Regions from separate parts of the Homo sapiens genome. Here region 1 is linked to region 2. The links are contacts of gene promoters, found by promoter capture Hi-C in human tissues and cell types (Jung and others, 2019). All regions are on one chromosome and are shown on one strand. Each heading gives the region's core, a stretch centred on a gene start or on the middle of the fragment in contact. The rest is flanking DNA. Distances are from core to core; before and after follow the strand shown. Region 1 overlaps C14orf39 (chromosome 14 open reading frame 39). Region 2 holds the start of SIX6 (SIX homeobox 6).

What was found. Contacts are between HindIII fragments. The study calls those that stand out against the background at their distance.
Region 1: a fragment that was not itself captured here is called in contact with the fragment with the promoter of SIX6 in region 2 in 2 of the 25 tissues and cell types used here (H1 embryonic stem cells and heart right ventricle).

Annotation. Positions count from the first base shown.
Region 1 is chr14:60,440,586-60,446,670 of GRCh38, reverse strand. C14orf39 (chromosome 14 open reading frame 39) reads left to right here. Exons shown (of 18, transcript NM_174978.3): 17 at 4,540-4,597. Among named protein-coding and RNA genes, the nearest start is that of C14orf39, 42 kb to the left of the region's middle. The HindIII fragment of the contact is 3,929 bases long and covers 2,706-6,085 here.
Region 2 is chr14:60,506,446-60,512,434 of GRCh38, reverse strand. SIX6 (SIX homeobox 6) reads right to left here and starts at 3,289. Exons shown (of 2, transcript NM_007374.3): 1 at 2,465-3,289; 2 at 1-1,351. The coding sequence starts at 3,036. The coding sequence ends at 1,183. It also overlaps a transcript of C14orf39 not described here. RefSeq lists an enhancer at 650-1,421. The HindIII fragment of the contact is 5,424 bases long and covers 1,006-5,989 here.

The sequences.
Region 1 (6,085 bases), core at 3,421-5,920, 67 kb after region 2:
ATTCTATTGATTGGAATAGTTTCAGAAGGAATGGTGTCAGCTCCTCTTTGTACCTGTGGTAGAATTTGGTTGTGATTCCGTCTGGTCCTGGACTTTTTTTGGTTGGTAGGCTATTAATTATTGCCTCAATTTCAGAATCTGTCATTCGTCTATTCAGAGATTCAACTTCTTCCTGGTTTAGTCTTTGGAGGGTGTATATGTCCAGGAATTTAAGCATTTCTTCTAAATTTTCTAGTTTATTTGCATAGAGGTGTTTTTAGTATTCTCTGATGGTACTTTGTATTTCTGTGGGATCAGTGGTGATATCCCCTTAACATTTTTTATTGCATCTATTTGATTCTTCTCTCTTTTCTTGTTTACTAGTCTTGCTAGCAGTCTATCAATTTTGTTGAATCCAATGCTGGATTCATTGATTTGTTGAAGGGTTTTTTGTGTCTCTAGCTCTTCAGTTCTGCTCTGATCTTAGTTATTTCTTGCCTTCTGCTAGCTTTTGAATTTCTTTGCTCTTGCTCCTCTAGCTCTTTTAATTTTGATGTTAGGGTGTCGATTTTAGATCTTTCCTGCTTTCTCTTGGGAGTTTTTAGTACTATAAATTTCCCTCTACACACTGCTTTAAACGTGTCCCAGAGATTCTGGTACGTTTTGTCTTTGTTCTCATTGGTTTCAAAGAACGTCTTTATTTCTCCCTTCATTTTGTTATTTATCCAGTAGTCATTCAGGAGCATGTTGTTCAGTTTCCATGTAGTTGTGGGGGTTTGAGTGAGTTTCTTAATCCTGAGTTCTAATTTGATTGCACTGTGGTCTGAGAGACAGTTTGTTGTGATTTATGTCCTTTTACATTTGCTGAGGAGTGTTTTACTTCCAATTATGTGGTCGATTTTAGAATAAGTGCAATGTGGTGCTGAGAAGAATGTATATTCTGTTGATTTGGGTTGGAGAGTACTGTAGATGTCTATTAGGCCCATTTGGTGCAGAGCTGAGTTCAAGTCCTGGATATCCTTGTTAACTTTCTGTCTTGTTGATCTGTCTAATATTGACAGTGTTGTGTTAACGTCTCCCATTATTATGTGGGAGTCTAAGTCTCTTTGTAGCTCTCTAATGACTTGCTTTATGAATCTGGGTGCTCCTGTATTGGGTTCATATATATTTAGGATAGTTAGCTCTTCTTGTTGAATTGATCCCTTTATCATTTTGTAATAGCCTTCATTATCTCTTTTGATCTTTGTTGGTTTAAAGTCTGTTTTATCAGAGACTAGGATTGCAACTCCTGGTTTTTTTCCTTTCAGTTTGCTTGGTATATCTTCCTCCATCTCTTTGTTTTGAGCCTATGTGTGTCTCTGCATGTAAGATGGGTCTCCTGAATACAGCACAGTGATGGGTCTTGACTCTTTATCCAATTTTCCAGTCTGTGTCTTTTTATTGGGGCATTTAGCCCATTTGCATTTAAGGTTAATATTGTTATGTTTGAATTTGATCCTGTCATGATGTTAGCTGGTTATTTTGCCCGTTAATTGATGTAGTTTCTTCATAGCATCAATGGTCTTTACAATTTGGCATGTTTTTGCAGTGGCTGGTACTGGTTGTTCCTTTCCAAGTTTAGTGTTCCCTTCAGGAGCTCTTGTAAGGCAGGCCTGGTGGTGACAAAAATCTCTCAGCATTTGCTTGTCTGTAAAGTATTTTATTTCTCCTTCACTTATGAAGGTTAGTTTGGCTGGATATGAGATTCTGGCTTGAAAATTCTTTTCTTTAAGAATGTTGAATATTGGCCCCCACTCTCTTCTGGCTTGTAGGGTTTCTGCTGAGAGATCTGCTGTTAGTCTGATGGGATTGTGGGTCTGATGGGATTCCCTTTGTGGGTAACCCGACCTTTCTCTCTGGCTGCCCTTAACATTGTTTCCTTCATTTCAATCTTGGTGAATCTGACAATTATGTGTCTTGGGGTTGCTCTTTTCGAGGAGTATCTTTGTGGTGTTATCTGCATTTCCTGAATTTGAATGTTGGCCTGCCTTGCTAGATTAGGGAAGTTCTCCTGGATAATATCCTGAAGAGTGTTTTCTAACTTGGTTCCATTCTCCCCGTCACTTTCAGGTACACCAATCAAACGTATATTTGGTCTTTTCACATATTCCCATATTTCTTGGAGGCTTCGTTTGTTTCTTTTTACTCTTTTTTCTCTAATCTTGTCTTCTTGCTTTATTTCATTAATTTGATCTTCAATCACTGATATCCTTTCTTCCACTTAATCGAATCGGCTATTGAAGCTTTTGTATGTGTCCTGAAGTTCTTGTGCCATGGTTTTCAGCTCCATCAGGCCATTTAAAGTCTTCTCTACGCTGTTTATTCTAGTTAGCCATTCGTCTAACCTTTTTTCAAGGTTTTTAGCTTCTTTGTGATGGGTTAGAACATGCTCCTTTAGCTCGTAGAAGTTTGTTATTACCGACCTTCTGAAGCCTGCATCCATCAACTCGTCAAAGTCATTTTCTGTCCAGTTTTGTTCCATTGCTGGCAAGGAGCAGCAATCCTTTTGAGGAGAAGAGGCACTCTGGTTTTTTGAATTTTCAGCTTTTCTGCTCTGGTTTCTCCCCATCTTTGTGGTTTTATCTACCTTTGGTCTTTTATGTTGGTAACCTACAGATGGGGTTTTGGTGTGGATGTCCTTTTTGTTGATGTTGATGCTATTCCTTTCTGTTTGTTAGTTTTCCTTCTAACAGTCAGGCCCCTCAGCTGCAGGTCTGTTGTAGTTTGCTGGAGATCCACTCCAGACCCTGTTTGCCTGTGTATCACCAGTGGAGGCTGCAGAACAGTAAATATTGCAGAACAGCAAATATTGCTGCCTGATCCTTCTTCTGGAATCTTTGTCCCATAGGGTCACCTACCTGTTTGAGGTGTCTGTCAGCCTCTACTGGGAGATGTCTCCCAGTCAGGCTACATGGGAGTCAGGGACCCACTTGAGGAGGCAGTCTGTCCATTCTCTGAGCTTGAATGCCATACTGGGAGAACCACTGCTCTCTTCAGAGCTGTCAGACAGGGACATTTAGGTCTGCAGAAGTTTTCTATTGCCTTTTGTTCAGCTGTGCCCTGCTCACAGAGTTTGAGTCTATAGAGGCAGTAGGCCTTGCTGAGCTGTGGTGGGCTCCCCCAGTTCAAGCTTCCTGGCTGCTTTGTTTACCTACTCAAGCCTCAGCAATGGCAGACACCCCTCCCCCTGCCAGGCTGCAGCCTCACAGGTCAATCTCAGACTGCTATGCTAGCAGTGAGCAAGGCTCCTTGGGCATGGCACTCACCGAGCCAGGCACGGGAGGGAATCTCCTGGTCTGCTGGTTGCTAAGACCTTGGACAAAGTGCAGTATTTGGGCGGGAGTGTACTGTTTTTCCAGGTACAGTCTGTCACAGCTTCCCTTGGCTAGGAAAGGGAAATCCCCCAACCCCATGCACTTCACGGGTGAGGGGACGCCCTGCCCTGCTGCAGCTCACCCTCTGTGGGCTGCACCCACTGTCCAACCAGTCCCATTGAGATGAACCAGGTACCTCAGTTGGAAATGCAGAGATCACCTGTCTTCTGTGTAGATCTCGCTGGGAGCTGCAGACCAGAGCTCTTCCTATTTGGCCATCTTGGAAGCGACCCCAAAATCTAAACTTCTATATGTTAAAAAATCTTAAGGGCAAAATGACGAAGATGTAAAATATTTGCAATAAGATTGCAAATAGTTAATTAACGTCTCTAGACTATAAAGTGCTTATATGTACCAATAAGGAAAAAATTACTTTCTCAATAGAAAAATGAGCAAAGTCCATTTGACAAAGAGATAATTCACTGAAAAAGAAATTCAAGTGGCTTATAAAATCTATGAGAAAACAGCTTTCCTTATTAATTGTCAAAGAAACATAAATCTGTGCATAACAGTGTTTATTCACATGTGACTTCTATATAAAAAACAAAGTTGGGACAACTTACATGTCCAGTATTAAAGGATGGTTGAAACTGTCTGGTTTGTCTATGTGGAGGAATATTATAGAGCCATGGAAAGAGTCAGATTTTAGAAGAATAATGACATGGACAAATGCTCACAATGCAATGTGAAGAGGAAAAAGGTGCACAGAAAACTATGCTGTCATGATCTCATTTTTTTTAAAAGCCTGTTTTACTGATAAAATAGACTTTTGGCAGCAAAACTTGATCTCAACTGACATGAAGCTATCCACTTCCTGTTACTTTTATAGGCAAAAAAAATACCAACAACCTGATTTGTTAAAAGCTTTCAGAATAAAGCAAAATATCATATTAAGATTCTAAAGTAAGAGCTATCTTTAGTACAGTGTATTTTGCCTGAATCAAATCAATAGACCTTATTTTAATATAAGTAAATGACAGGTTTTGAAGATAGATCTTTTTAAGTATAAGAGTGTGCTATATAAAGGTACCATATGTCTACTTTAATTCTGTGTGTTAGAAGAACTAAGCTTTAGATTCAAATATATGTACTATATATACTGTCCTACTGATTTCACAAGTAATATTTAATGGAAATTATTTTCCAGTTTAATGAACATTATTCTGCAAGAAATCTAAATCCTCTGTCATCAGAGCAAGAGATTGGTAAGTTGTTTGAAGTTTGCTACCTTTAAAAACATGTTAACTCATTAGTACAGTATTTAGTTTCTCTAACTTATTTTCTTAGGTGCTCAATTTATTCTTTAGAAATTACTGTTACTTCTGCACTACTCACTGATATTCTTTTCTTTCTTTTTCAAGCAATTAGCTTTTCTCACTACTCTATTAAAACTTACTTTCTCCAAGGTTATTGACCTCCCAATTATCAAACATTATGGGTATCTTGTATTTATTATCATATTAAGACTCTTTGCAACATCTGATATAATTGGTTATTTCCATCTTTTTTCTGTAATTTTTGGATTTCCTTTTCTCTCTTTGATACTTTTTATTGGATATTCTTTCTTCATTTTTCCTTTGATTGATTAATTCATTCAACATATTAATATAAATATGTACGTGTATTATATTTTATATCAGGTATGCTTTTGGGCTGTGGTGACAGTGGACAAGAATGAAAAATTCTCATATGGTTTATGTTCCAGTGGGATAAACTGAAAATAGTCAAATAAATCAATGTATAATTTATCAGATAGTACACTAAACAACAGTTGTTATGGGCTTGAATAGTCAGACTCACATATTATGATTTTAAATCTAATATTACCTTTATGTTGTAGAATGATACAAGATAAGAGATAATGGTAGGTACAGCATCCTTGTTTCATTGAGAGGATCACCAACTACCCAAGTAATACACCTTCTTTTGCCACTGCCACCCAAGGAACATGTCAGGCTGCTATGGACAAAAGGCATGTTGCATGTAGGTCACCTTGAAACACAAGAGCTGTAACTTCAATTTCACACCAGTCTTTTATATTATTCTAGTCATGAGGCCCAAGGCCTGTATGCTAACTCATAGCTCCTCTAATTCAGGTGCAGTCTCACACAGCAGACTAGATAGATAAAACATTCTGTGTTTACCTTAATTCTGTGAAAACAGTGCTGTGGGAAGTCAGGCTCCAAGGTCATTTTCCAGGTGGGCCCGAATCTTCCCAGGCTTGATGTTAATTTTTTACTTATTGTTGGTGATAAATACTATGCAGCAAAGTAATGTAGAGTAAGGGAAATAGGGAATACTTGGATTGGGAAGGTGATTGCCGTATTGCAAGGAGTCAGGAAAGGCATCACTAAAAGTCAACATTGAGCAGAAGGAGGTGCATATACAAGCTACTGGGAAAAGTGTTCCAAGCAAAGGGCAAAAAGGTCTTGAAATGGGAACATACTCAGTATGTTCGTTGAAAATTAGTTAAATTGGTATGATTTATGGAATAAGGAAGGAGAGACTGGTGGGAGATTAAATCCAAGAGGTGGATGGAGAGCAAATCATGTGGGACCTGTAGATCATTAAGGACTTAGGGTTTTTTTTCTGAGTGAAATGGGAAACCTCTGGAAGGTTTTAAGTAAAGGACTGAAATGATCTGACAGGTTTTAAAAGAATTATTCTGGCTGCTATGTGGAGAACAGACTGTA
Region 2 (5,989 bases), core at 2,040-4,539:
TTACAACCTCTTCTATCATCTTTTGTCTTATTTTAATAATAGCTCAATCCTAAATGCAGTATATGCTCACTCTAGCATGATCATGGGTGCCTGCTGCTTTTGTATTGGAGGGGGCCTTGAAGGAGACAGAAAGCCTTTCTTGCTGCAGAGCCTGAGTCAGGATAGTTTTGCATTTTTAGAAAATAGGACTCACTTATTGAGTCCCATAGTTTGGCTTCCTAAATTGCTCCTGAAAGCTGTTGACACTTCATGTAAACGAGTGTCAAGTGGACAAGCCATAATTACCTGTGCTGGGGATGCGGGGACTTGCCTTAGAGAGGACGCTCACATGTTGCCAATTTCTAGCCTTAAATATATCACGTGTATGCATACATACATATGTTTGTATAGGTACATACATATGTTTGTATAGGTACATACATATATGCACATACGTGTAATTTGACGTGGGAGGTGGTTATAGACCTACCATAGGTTGTTTAAAACATATACCAGGAAGCACCAAAGAAGGCAAAAGATATATAGGTAAGACCTTCCGGAGACCATTTGCTCAAGGGTCCCTGCATGCCTGGTGAAGGGAATGATATTAATAATAATAAGAAGAAAAGGAATCTGAGAGCAGCTCCCTTAATTAAGAAGGTTGCCCACTAGGTTGTTTTATTGTTTGGCTTCTCCACACAGAACCCATCACCACCAGCCTGCATGTTTAGAAACAGCAAGTTCCCCAAGCTACAGAGAAACCTACCATGGCGGTCTCTTAAATAAGTAAATAAACAGCATATATATGTTTTGTTAAAAAAAAACTTTAAAGCGAAAGTTATACATATGTAACAGCGTCCTTTCGACGTGAAATACCCATGGGAGAATCTGGGCAGGCGCTCAGCTTGCAGTTCGGGTTCCGAAGGAGACTTTGCAGCAAAATCCTTAGGAAAAAGCAAAGCAAGAAGAACGTGGTGCTGGGTCAGGCCTCACCGCTGGTTCCCGTGGTCGCGGCCAAAGGGCGCCAGTGAAGCCAGGCCGGCCGCGGGGTGGGGCGGGAAACGGCAACCCGAGCCCGCGGGTCCCTGGTCACCTGGCTTCTGTGGCGCTGGATTTGCAGGTCTCTCATCTTCTTCCCCTCTTTCATTTTGTTTTTCTCGTTTTTACACTGGAATCTGCTTCTGAGCATCCTGGATGGGCAACTCAGATGTCGCACTCGCTGTCGCTGGACGTGATGGAGATGGCTGAAGTGGCCGCCTTGCTGGATAGACTGGCGGCCGGGCTGGTGGCGACGCCCAGCACCTCTGGCGTGCCGTCGCCCTCCGCCCGTAGTGCCCGCCCGGAACCCTGTGACAGGACCTGCTGCTGGAGTCTACGGGGAAGAAAGGGAACACGGGTCACAGCTCGTAACACAGCCGCCCGTCGCCCGCCCCCACCACCTCCTGCGTCCCTCCAGCCCGGCGGCTAGAGGTTCTTCCGAAGACCCCAGCAGTTAAGGCGAGGATTACTCGGCAAGGCGACAGAGGTCGGGCAGGAGTCCGCGGCCGCCCCTCCGCGGGTCCCTACTGTTGTGCCCCACCATGATTCGCGCCCTTTCTCAGCGCCGCAGCTCCCAGGTCTTTTATATACTGGGCTTGCAGTGTCCTCCCTGTTTGTTGTGCACTTTTGGGAGATTTACAGGACTGTCAGGAAATAAACGAAGTGTGGGTGACAAGGACAGATCGGTCCCAGGGACATGGGATACCATTTCTAACGGTGCGTCTGCCTGGGGCTTACGCCTGAGCAAGTGCTCCCGCGATCGCGTTGGATCGGGTCGGCCCGACCTAAAGGCAAAAAGGATTGTAAGGAGCATTTGGGCCTGGGGGATGAGGCCGGGCTCTTCCGCAAAATGTTTGGCTAATCGAGATCCACACTCCGGGAAACGAAAAGCCTCGGCCCACGGACTAGTTTGCTGTTTTGAGACAAGAGTGGCAGGCAGCGCATGGGAAGAGGAAAACTCGACTTCCCATTTCTCAAAAGTCCATTGAAAACTGTTTTCAAAGCATTAGGGAGGGATATACCTGGGCTTTGAAAATGATAATTAACATGAAACCGACACATTGCTAATAAGCCAGGCTTCGATTAATAGTAGGAGCCTGTGCCCAGGCTGACAAGAATTAGCTTTGGGTCTTGGGGTCCCTAACTGTTTGTAGGATTTTAATTTTTTATTTCTCTTCCCCTCTCCGTCCCAGTGAAGCCTTGGTTTGGTGACCGGGACCAGCTGCTGCAGCTGCCCGCAGGCGTGGGGAGCCAGCGGGTGGGGAAGCAGAGCCGGCAAGGGAACTCCCGGCCAGGAGCCCAGAACGCAGGGCTCTTAACCCAAGACAGACCGCGCTCCCAACTCCTGCTGAATTGGAGTCGCCAGGGACTGGGTAAGGGCGCCAGAGGTGCCTCCACCCGCCTCCTCCCCGGTGCGCTCAAAGCGCGGAGGCCTCTAGGTACCGACCTGTTCTTGGCTGCAGCCGCTCGGTCCCTTTGTCGGCGGTTTTTGAACCAGTTGCCCACCTGCGTAGGGGTCAGTCCGGTTGCCTGGGCGAGCTCACGTTTTTTGCTGGGGTTAGGGTATGGATCCTGCAGGTACCACTCGCGTAGCAGGTGCCGCGTGCGCTCCTTGAAGCAGTGTGTCTTCTGTTCGCCGTCCCAAATGGTGCGCGGCAGCGGGAACTTCTTCCTTACTCGGTACTTGTCCACAGGTCCCAGGGGTCTTCCACGCAGCTTCTCAGCCTCCTGGTAGTGTGCTTCAAGCCACAGCGCCTGCAGCTTGGCGTGCGACTCCTTGGTGAACTTGTGGTTTTCCAGGATATGATAGAGCTCGCGGTAGTTGCCACCGTGAAAGGCCACGATGGCTCGTGCGCGTAGCACCGACTCATTCTTGTTGAGGGCCTCGCAGGCCGCAGGGGCCACGGGCAGCGACCAGAGGAAGCGACCCAGGCGCTCCACATCGCCGCTCTCTTCCAGGGTCTCACATACCCCGGCCACTTGCTGGGGGCTGAAATTCAAGATGGGCAGCTGGAACATCGAGGCAGTGCCGGCGGCGGCGAGGGCACTGAGCCCGGAGCGGGACACGCAGCAGATGCCCGCGGGCCTGGCTGAGTGTGCCAGGCGCTTGTTGATGAGGCGGATTGGGGCAGCGGGACACACTACCGGGTGGCGGCGGTGGCTCAACGGCCGGGAGCGGACGACCCCGACTGGAGGAGGTGCTGGCTCCGCGGCTTGGGGTTCGGGCTCGGCTCGGCTCAGGCACGCCGGCAGGCGAGCTGGCTCCGCTATTGGGGTGGGCGGATTGGCGGCGCGGGCGCCATGGAGACCCCCTGTCAGTCACCGGGTGGCTCTGCCAATCAAAGCTTGAATCAGCACGCCAGGACTATTTCAGCACCTCCCCGTGCTCGACAGCGCCCGCCGTTAGCTCCTGGACTTTTCTTCAGTATTTTGCAGAACCTGGAGGTTGAAAAGACATGCGAGTGTCTGGGAGAAAAAGAGAGGCGAGTGCGGCAGCGTTCACTACTCCTCCCTCCCCCACCCCGCTCTACCCCTCCCTCCCTTTTTCCCACCAAATAGGCAGTGATGCCACAGGAATTCAGGAATTCACTTTGGGGCGATGCGTTGTCTCGGTCGAGAGGTCTCCAGAGGACAAAGAGGACTGGGCCAAACTGAAATGCTCCGAGAATTCGCAAGTTTAGTTGTAACGAAACAGCAAACCTTGCGGTGGGAGCAGGAAGCCGGTGGGGGGAAGCGATCTTCTCATTTTTCCCAAGTACCCATCTCTGCATGCCTCCCTCTTCCCCTTTCCAGTTGCCAAAGCAGCTGAGTGGGAAGCAAATCTGGAGCAGCAGGAACAGGACCAGGGATCTGTAGAAGAGGTCAGTTTGAACTCTAGCCTTACTCCCTTCAAAGCCCACTAAAATAATTTTAAATGCCAACAAGGACATGTTCACGTCTGATAACGCAGATGCAGACCACGAAGTCAGACACTTTAAGAAAAGAAGGGTGGGCTGTAGGGACCTCCAAATAAAGGGGGAGAAATATACTTTCTCCCCCTCCCCCAGTTTAATGGACTTGAACAAAGTGCAGCATAGCCACATCTAGAGCCGAGAAGTCATTGGTAGGTCAGGACAGCAACTTAAAAGCTTATTTCCTAGATCTTTTTTAAAATATCGACTTAACTCCTTTCCTTGTAGGCTTATTTTGCCCCTACCTTGTGTTAGAACTTATACCTCTTGAGCTGGGGATAACAACTCTAACCTTGGCATTTTAGCTCAAAAACAATTCAGTAAAAATACAATACAGAAGGGCATCCACGACAATGCGGGGGCCCAGAAAGCACTTCCTAAGCCGCTGATTATTGACCCCTCCTGTAGTGAGGAAGGAGTGGCTTGGTGGCTCTGACTTTGGGCTAGTGGAGTGAATTGGCAACTTTTATTGATTCCCAATTGGCAGTCCACATCATACCATTTTCTGAGGCCTGGGTCAAAGAAACCATGATCTCATCTGGGCCTGTGGTAGGGGTTTGTTTAGTTTGAAGAAAATAACTGGTAGGGGGCTGTATAACAAAAACGCCAGGAAAACCGTTTTGGGGAGGTCCATCCCTAGACAGAAATCAGGTGAGAACGTTCACAGCCGAACTGGACTGGACCCGACTGTCTTTTCTTTAGTATCAAGTACAATTTGTATGCGGCTTGTACAGATCTGGTAAATCAGAAGGCAGATAGATAGCACAGATGGTTGGAGGTGTCGGGTCAGATCACGCCACGCCTGAGTGCAGGGCAAAGCTCGTTCTGACGGAAAACCCTGATATTATTTTCACAGATCTTCACAGTTCACTCGAAAAAAATAGCAGAGGGGAAGAAAAAAGCCCTGAAACCATTTACATCATTTCTGTGAGATTGCCAACCGCCTCAACGGAGAGGCTTTCTTTTCTAAGAGTTCATTTTCTTGAAATACGACAAGGCAGGGGCAAAATAAAGAGGGCGATGAAGATAATGACAAAGCATAAACCTTCTTTCCCTTGGAGCGACTTCCGAATCAGCCGGAAGGACAACTTTTAGAAAGAAACATCGGATACAAGGGCCCCGAACACGCAGGCGGAGGAGAATCCGCGGTGCAGAAAAAGAGGGCCTCGGTGGCCGGGCAGGGATGAAGCCGGACCCGGGAGGGCTGCGATCCCGGAGCTTCTGGCCAGGGGAGGAAAGCACCCCCTTGCTCCAGTTTGCAGAGGTTTATTTTCCCTCTCGGGGTGGTTACTTTGCCGGCTATTGCTCGCGAAATTGCTTGGCGCTCACCCTTAGCGCGCAGAAGAGGCGGTGGGGTCCGCGGAGACCTTACAGCCCGCGAGCCGAGCCGAGAGCCGACCCCGATCCCAGCGCCTAGCTGCTGAGGTGGGAGAGGTTGTCCATGCCCCAGGAGACCACACGTCTCCCTCTCGCCCTTTTACTGGACAGTTTGGAAGCGGCACATTCGGGGAGAGCTGGTTTCTTACCCTTAATCTTTGTGAGCAAGTGGACAGTCTAGGGGCCCCATCCAGGAAATGGGAATATTTATCCCATGGCCCATTTCTTGGATAATAGTTCTGCAAATAATTAGATGAGGGCGCTTTAGCTTCTGCGTGTCTGAGGCTCGCGGGCAACTGGAACTGAGAGTCTGAGTTGGCCTCGCGGGAGCCGCCAGAAGGGTGCGGGCTGCGTGTGGCAGAGTAGGAGCACTGTCTGGTGGCTTGGCAGGAAGGGACTGAGAAGTGCCTGGAGGTTGGGGACTACTATCAGGAGATCCATCTTCGCCATCGCAAGGGACTTGATTTAATTTTATTAACCCAAAGGAAATAGACTGCGCCAGGGCACCTTGGAATCACTTATTTGTTCACCAGCTTCACAAGGGGAAGGGACGAACAGGAAGAAGTATGTGAGCCGAGCCCCCTGGGAAAGAGGGAAGCTCCACGGGATTCCTTAGGAATAACCCTCTTTTGGGGAAGGCGGTG